Regions from separate parts of the Homo sapiens genome. Here region 1 is linked to region 2. Evidence: promoter capture Hi-C in human tissues and cell types (Jung and others, 2019). All regions are on one chromosome and are shown on one strand. Each heading gives the region's core, a stretch centred on a gene start or on the middle of the fragment in contact. The rest is flanking DNA. Distances are from core to core; before and after follow the strand shown. Region 1 overlaps CNOT9 (CCR4-NOT transcription complex subunit 9). Region 2 holds the start of GLB1L (galactosidase beta 1 like).

Region 1 (3,518 bases), core at 368-2,867, 660 kb before region 2:
ACCCAGATTTGACTTCAGAATCCTTCTTAACATAGCATTCTGGGCGGCCTCTATAATAGACGAGAATTGGCATGTAAGTTAAAATATTTTTGCCACCTGTCATATCTAAAAAATTAAGAAAAGGGAAATCCTGTTCAGGAATCTACTTTGTGGGCTTTTATGGCCCCAAAGGCACTTAATAGTCATCTTATTAAAGCCTTTCCTCTTTGTCAAGTTTCCTTATGAAATATGTATGCTAGGTTGGCACTGACCTTACACAGCTTTAGAGAAATTACTAAGAAAATTACTTTTAAGCACTTAACAAAAACACAAGAGTACTTTGAGTGTTAAAAATCTTGGGCGTTGGCTCTTCTACAAGGTGTAACTATAAATAATATAAAATAATAGACTGATTTCCTTATTAGTTGCCTGACTAAACTGTTTTCAGAATGGTTTGTGTATCTGAAATGCCCTAACAAAAAAAGAAGAATGTGCTTATTAAAGTATAGCAGGTAAGCCTGATAATGGCTGCTTTGTTTTGTTGTATTGGTTTGTAAGGTTTATTCGACTGCACCTGTGAATACTATTATTCAGTCATAGGTGAGGGAGATAATCTAGGACAATCTCTTGGACACTTAATAGCATTTTGTGGTCTATTTTTTAAAATCCACAATTGGATATTTTAAGTTAATCAGTTTGTAAGGTACTTTTTGCTGATTACAGGGAAAATCATGTGTTTTCTTAACCACTGTGATCTGGACTAGGGTTTTCAGCTTTGGCACCATTACCATTTGGGGCTGGATGAATCTTTGTGATGGAAAGGAGAGGGCAGGAGAGGACTGTCCTGTGCATTGTAGGATGTTTAATGGCATCTCTGGCCTCTTCCCACTGGATGCCAATAGTGCTTCATAATCCTGAGTTGTGACAATCAAAGATGTCTCCAGACATTGCCACATGTCCTCCAGGGGGCAAAATTTACCCCATTTGAGAACCATTGGTTGAGACTAATGACCAGTAACATTGTTTTCCTAAGGATTCCTTGCTCTGACAATGTTAAGGCCTTACAGAATTAACCACCTAGAAATTTGAAAGTTCAGGATCCTTAGAAATCAACCCTGGGCTGTGAATGTAATTATTGTTTTCTTCCAGGTCAGCGTTTCTCGCAGCACACATCCCACTTTTTTTGTACCCCTTTTTGCACACTGTCAGCAAAACACGTCCCTTTGAGTATCTCCGGCTCACCAGCCTTGGAGTTATTGGTAAGTTATTAGAATTGTTTTGCAAGCCTGAAATACTCACAGTAGTAGTCTAAGTTGGGTGTTTTGTCTTGCCGGTTATGATTTTTGTACACCAGTCATTCATTTTTGTCTTTGAGGTTGTCTCATTCACTAATCAATAAGTATCAGGAACATGATGACTCCTATCAAGCACTCTTCTAAGTGTTGTTAATAAGACTTTGAGATCCAACATTTGGGATTAAATTCAGCATATATGTGGAAACATTTGCTGGAATTGTAGGGAGAGTAAAGCATAAGAACTTGATTCAATATATAAAGAGTATTATTAAAGGAATAAGAGTTTAAATTTGGGACTTCTCCTCTTCCCTTCTCTCTTCTCTTCTCTTCTTTTCTTTTCTTTTCTTTCTGATAGGGTCTTGCTGTGTTACCCAGGCTGGAATTGAACTCCTAGGCTCAAGTGATCCTCCTGCCTCAGCCTCCCAAGTAATAGGGACCATGGGCACAGGCACACACCACTGTCTTTTTTTGTTTGTTTGTCTTACTTCTAATACCGGAATGCTTCGTATATCTGAAATGCCCTAAGAATATGCATGTCAAATACACTAAGCATTCTGAAAACCTGTAATTCTCCCATAACTCCAGGAATATGAATCTGTCAGTTCACCCAGTTAAATTTTTTCATCTACTTTTTTTTTAGTCTCTACTAAAAAAATAATGCAAAAATCAGCCGGGCGTGGTGGCATGTGCCTGTAGTCCCAGCTGCTGGGGAGGCTGAGGCAGGAGAATCGCTTGAACCTGGGAGGTGGAGATGCAGTGATTGCAGTGAGCCAAGATCACGCCACTGCACTCCAGCCTGGGCGGCAGAGGGAGACTCAAAAAAAAAAAATTAAATTTCCATGTACTAGCAATGAACAATAGGAAATTTATTTTTTATTTTATTTTTTTTTTTTTTTTTTGAGACAAGGTCTTGCTCTGTTGCCCACTCTTGAGTGCAGTGGCATGATCATGGCTCACTGCACCCTCAAACTCCTGGGATCACACAAATCCACCCACCTCAGCCTTGAGAAGCTGGAACCATAGGCACATGCCACCACACCTGGCTACATTTTTTTATTTTTTTGTAGACACAAGGTCTCACTTTTTGTTGCCCAGGCTTGTCTCAAACTTCTGGGCTCAAGTGGTTCTCCCACCTTGGCCTCCCAAAGTGCTGGGATTACAGATGTGAGCCACTGCACCTAGCTGAAATTTTTTTAAACTGCCATTTATAACAGCACCGAAATGTGAAAATTTGGGTATAAATCTTTAAAAATATATGCATGATCTATAACTAAAAACTACAAAACTGATTTCTAATGAAATAAAATGCAGAGATAAACCATGTTCATTGATTGGTGTATCAATGATTCAGTATTGTTAAGTTGTTCATTCTCCCCAAACTGATCTATAGATTCAGAGTAATTCCAACAAAATCCCAGCAGCACTTTTTTTAGAAATTGGCAGGCTGACTGCTATGGACTGAATTGTGTCCTCCCCAAAATTTCATGCTTTGAAACCCTACCCCCTCATGTCATGGTATTTGGAGATGGGACCTTTGAAAGATAATTAGGTTTAGATGAGGACATGGCCCTCATGAGGTTAGTATTCTTCTAAGAAGAGACACCAAAGAGCTTGTGCTCCCTCATTCGCTCTCTGCCATGTGAGGACATAGTGAGAAGCTGGCCATCTACAAGCCAGGAAGAGAGACTTTACAAGAACTATACCATACCATGCTGGCACCCTGATCTCAGCTTTTTTTTTTTTTTTTGTGAGACAGATTCTTGCTCTGTTGCCCAGGCTAGAGTGCAGTGGCATAATTTTGGCTCACTGCACCCTCCGCCTCCTGGGTTCTAGCAATTCTTCTGCCTCAGCATCCCGAGTAGCTGGGACTACAGGTGCGTGCCACCACACCCGGCTAATTTTTGTATTTTTAATAGAGACAGGGTTTCACGATGTTGGCCAGGCTGGTCTTGGAACTCCTGACCTCAGGTGATCCAGCTGCCTCAGCCTCCCAAAGTGCTGTGATTACAGGTGTGAGCCACTGTGCCCAGCCTGATCTCAGACTTTCAGCTGCTAGAACTATGAGACAATAAATTTCAGTTGTTTAAGCCACCAGTCTATGGTATTTTGTTATGGCAGCCTTCTAATAGACTGATCCTAAGATTTATATGGAAAGCCAAAGGAACTAGAATATCCAAACATTTCTTTAAAAGAACAAAGTTGGAAGACATATACTACCTGAGTTCCACACCTACTGGAAAAATA
Region 2 (3,779 bases), core at 147-2,646:
CAGGAGAATTGCTTGAACCCGGAAGGCGGAGGTTGCAGTGAACCGAGATCCTGCCACTGCACTCCAGCCTGGGCAACAGAGCGAGACTCTGTCTCAAAAAACACAAACAAACAAACAAAAGAAATGTAAAATCTCAGATCCTACCTCAGACCTATAGAATCAGAATTTGTATTTTAACAAGATTCCCAGGTGATCCTAGGCACCTTCAAAATTGAGAAGCATGGCTTTACTTGACTGGGCTCCCTGAGGACAGGGAGTGCCCTGTTCATCTCAAATCCTCAGCCTCTAGCACAGGGCCGGGTATATAGTAGGTTAAATCTGGATGAATCAATGTCATAACCAAAAGGCTAAAACAGGTTCAGAACCAGGGGAAACCATTGGAAAATCTTCAGGGTGATCCGGGGTGTGGAAGGGAGGAACCAGGTCACAAGAAGGACCTCTTTCCTGGAGAGTCCTGTTTCAGCAAAACAGCCATTCCCTCCTGGCCATTCCACCTTCTTTGGAAGTGCACCCCTCTCCAGCTTACCCCTGCCTGCCTCCGCAACAGATATTAAGGACAACTGCTTTGTGCCAAAGCTCGAAAATCTGTGAATTTCCGTTCCTTTTGCCTTTACAGTCTCAAGAATGGGATGTGAAGATCAGGGTAATAATAATTACGGTTTATTGACACGTACTGAAGGCTATGTGTCAGATATTGTATTAAACACTGTACATCTCATTTAATCTTCAACTCCATGAGGTAGATAATTATTTCCATTTTACAGAGGAGGAGAGGAAAGGACAGAAACATTAAGTAGCCTGTCCAAGGTCACACAACTACGTTAACGGAGCTGTCATTTGAACTAGTCAGTCTGGCCTCACAGTTAAGCTACTTAACCTTATGTACTATTATACCTATTTTACAGCTACCAAAAGTAAGGATCCGAGAGGTTAAGTAACTTGCCCGAGGTTACACAGCTAGCATGCTATTAACACTCAATTTAGAAACTGGAAGTCTGGTTCACAAGCCTGAGCTCTTAACCACTGAGACTAGGGGTAGTGGGATACAGGCCAGAGCCCAGAAGGTTGTACGGGATCAGGAGACCAGGCCACCAGACCCGCCCCTCACTGGATCCCCCTCCAGGCTGCAGTGTAGTTGGCCGCTTTCTGCCCCAGAGCGCCAGAGGTATGAAGCCTCCTACCTCCAACATTGGGAGATGGAGGTCCTGGGGGCCTCGGGCCGAGCCCGGCTTTGCTCCCCTTTGGCGTAGGTGCCTGCGTCTTGACCCCCACCGAAGGCCAAGTAGAGAACCCTCACCAGGGTCCTGGGACCCGTCCACCCCTACACCTAGCTAGCCCGGAGCCTCTCAGCTCCGCGTCCCCACATCCTCCGGATGCCCAGCGGTTGCTGAGATACCGCGGGCCGTTACGCCGGCGCGGACTGATGATGTCAGCACTGCTTCCGGTCGGTGGCGCTTCTCTCTGGCCCGAGCCAGGTCAGTCCGGCAGTGCAGATGGCCCATCCCGGGCTCTGGGCTCCTAGACCGGGGTGGGCCCTGCCAGGAGTGGGCCTGAGCCTCGCACGTCCTCTGAAACTACGCTATGCTCTGCTTTTGCGGCGCGATGGGCGTGGGAGCGGGGGCTGCCCAAAGATGGGCTGGGGTTGGAGGAAGTGGCCCGGTAGCCGCTGTGTGTCCTGAGGCCGTAAGGCGCCTGACCCCACCCCTGAAGCTGGCGACGGAGCAGGGCCTGTTTTCTCTACACTATAGTGTAGGTTCCAGAGACCTGGGCCTGAGCTCTCCGCATTGGTACTTCATGGGTCGTCTGGATTGTGCCGGACCTGTGACCCTGCCGTTGTTTTCTTTCCAGCATGATCCGCTGGGCCCCCAGCGCATCTCCTGGAAGAGCCCACTCACCCTGGACGAGCTCTTCGGTAGCCTCAGACCGTCCTTGAAGAGGATGACTGAGACATTATGGGCCACGCGCTGTGTGTCTGCTCTCGGGGAACTGTCATCATTGACAATAAGCGCTACCTCTTCATCCAGAAACTGGGGGAGGGGTGAGTGTTTGGAAGTCAGTTAACTAGTCCTCAAGTTTATGATCATTGAAGGACAGCGGTGTGCATATGCTTGGGGCACAAGGGTTTTATCCCTATCCCTGTCCTCTCTCACCTGACAGAACCTAGCTACACAGTATCAAGAAGGTGGATTCTGGAGCCAGGCCTGCTAAATCCACCTCGTGTGACCTTGATAAACCATGTTTTTTTCATCAGCTTAATGGAGATGATTATTATCCCTCACTGATGGAGTTGTGAGGATTAAATGAGATAATGTGTATAAAATGTCTCACCCAATGCGGGGTTGACAAGTACTTGATAAGTGTTGGCTATTATTTATTTAGCATCTGTCAAGTGCAGAGGTCTCTATTACGACCATAGGACCTCAAAGATTTCTATATCTCTGCTCCTGAGGAGCTCACGGTGTAATATTCTTCAGATTTCTCTTAGAGCCACATCTTGGGAAGGTTTCTGCTAAATGGGAAGGACACCCCACTCCCCACCAGGAAATTTCTCTAGGTCCAAGCCATGTGGGAGATGACCATGGCCCTTTATTGACCCCTTTGGCCCACAGTGGGTTCAGCTATGTGGACCTAGTGGAAGGGTTACATGATGGACACTTCTACGCCCTGAAGCGAATCCTGTGTCACGAGCAGCAGGACCGGGAGGAGGCCCAGCGAGAAGCCGACATGCATCGCCTCTTCAATCACCCCAACATCCTTCGCCTCGTGGCTTACTGTCTGAGGGAACGGGGTGCTAAGCATGAGGCCTGGCTGCTGCTACCATTCTTCAAGGTCAGAAAGACTCCTGGTTATGGAGGGGGTTGCAGCAGAGCCACCTACTCAAGGGCTGTGTGAGCAGTCCAGCATGTTAGGAAGCAGGGACCATGTCCTGGGTTTGGCCACTTTAGATTTTGAGTTTGAGGTGTGTATCATGAAAGGGCTGATAGGCTTTGACATAGGGAAGGGATCAGGCCTAAGGAGCAGAGGCTCCAAAAACATCTCCAACTGTAGGGAAACTTGTGTTGCAGAGAGGTACGCTGTGGAATGAGATAGAAAGGCTGAAGGACAAAGGCAACTTCCTGACCGAGGATCAAATCCTTTGGCTGCTGCTGGGGATCTGCAGAGGCCTTGAGGCCATTCATGCCAAGGGTTATGCCCACAGGTCAGTGGGAGGACCCTGTGTGCTTGCTGGGGCCCAGAGGAAGAGCCTCACCAGGAGACATGGGAGGTCTCTGTTCTCCCAAGAAACAGCCTGTATGATTCTTTTGCTTGCTGGGATTCCAGCCTTCCTGTCCAGAGATGCTCATAGGTCACTTCTACTTCTCTACAGAGACTTGAAGCCCACCAATATATTGCTTGGAGATGAGGGGCAGCCAGTTTTAATGGACTTGGGTTCCATGAATCAAGCATGCATCCATGTGGAGGGCTCCCGCCAGGCTCTGACCCTGCAGGTAAAAGAGTCTCCAGGTTCCTTTTCTCACCTGTTCCCCATTCCCACCCCTTCTGGTGCATGTCCCAGTTTGGTCACATGACCATGACCTGTGCCCCACTTTTGAGCTCTGGGATCACTGTTCCAGGACTGGGCAGCCCAGCGGTGCACCATCTCCTACCGAGCCCCAGAGCTCTTCTCTGTGCAGAGTCACTGTGTCATCGATGAGCGGACTGATGTCTGGGTGAGGAGCATGTGGGTGGGTATCTGGGTAGGGAGGGCTGTGGCTCTGTACCCACCGTGGAGTAGAGTA

Evidence for each region. Contacts are between HindIII fragments. The study calls those that stand out against the background at their distance.
Region 1: a fragment that was not itself captured here is called in contact with the fragment with the promoter of GLB1L in region 2 in 1 of the 25 tissues and cell types used here (spleen).

The regions. Positions count from the first base shown.
Region 1 is chr2:218,583,484-218,587,001 of GRCh38, forward strand. CNOT9 (CCR4-NOT transcription complex subunit 9) reads left to right here. Exons shown (of 8, transcript NM_005444.3): 4 at 1,129-1,238. Among named protein-coding and RNA genes, the nearest start is that of CNOT9, 16 kb to the left of the region's middle. The HindIII fragment of the contact is 4,719 bases long and covers 1-3,518 here.
Region 2 is chr2:219,244,048-219,247,826 of GRCh38, forward strand. GLB1L (galactosidase beta 1 like) reads right to left here and starts at 1,397. Exons shown (of 17, transcript NM_001286423.2): 1 at 1,182-1,397. It overlaps STK16 (serine/threonine kinase 16), which reads left to right and starts at 1,432. Exons shown (of 8, transcript NM_001330213.2): 1 at 1,432-1,749; 2 at 1,849-2,038; 3 at 2,610-2,829; 4 at 3,066-3,199; 5 at 3,368-3,488; 6 at 3,615-3,710. The coding sequence starts at 1,953. RefSeq lists enhancers at 1,113-1,695, 1,144-1,573. The HindIII fragment of the contact is 8,716 bases long and covers 1-3,779 here.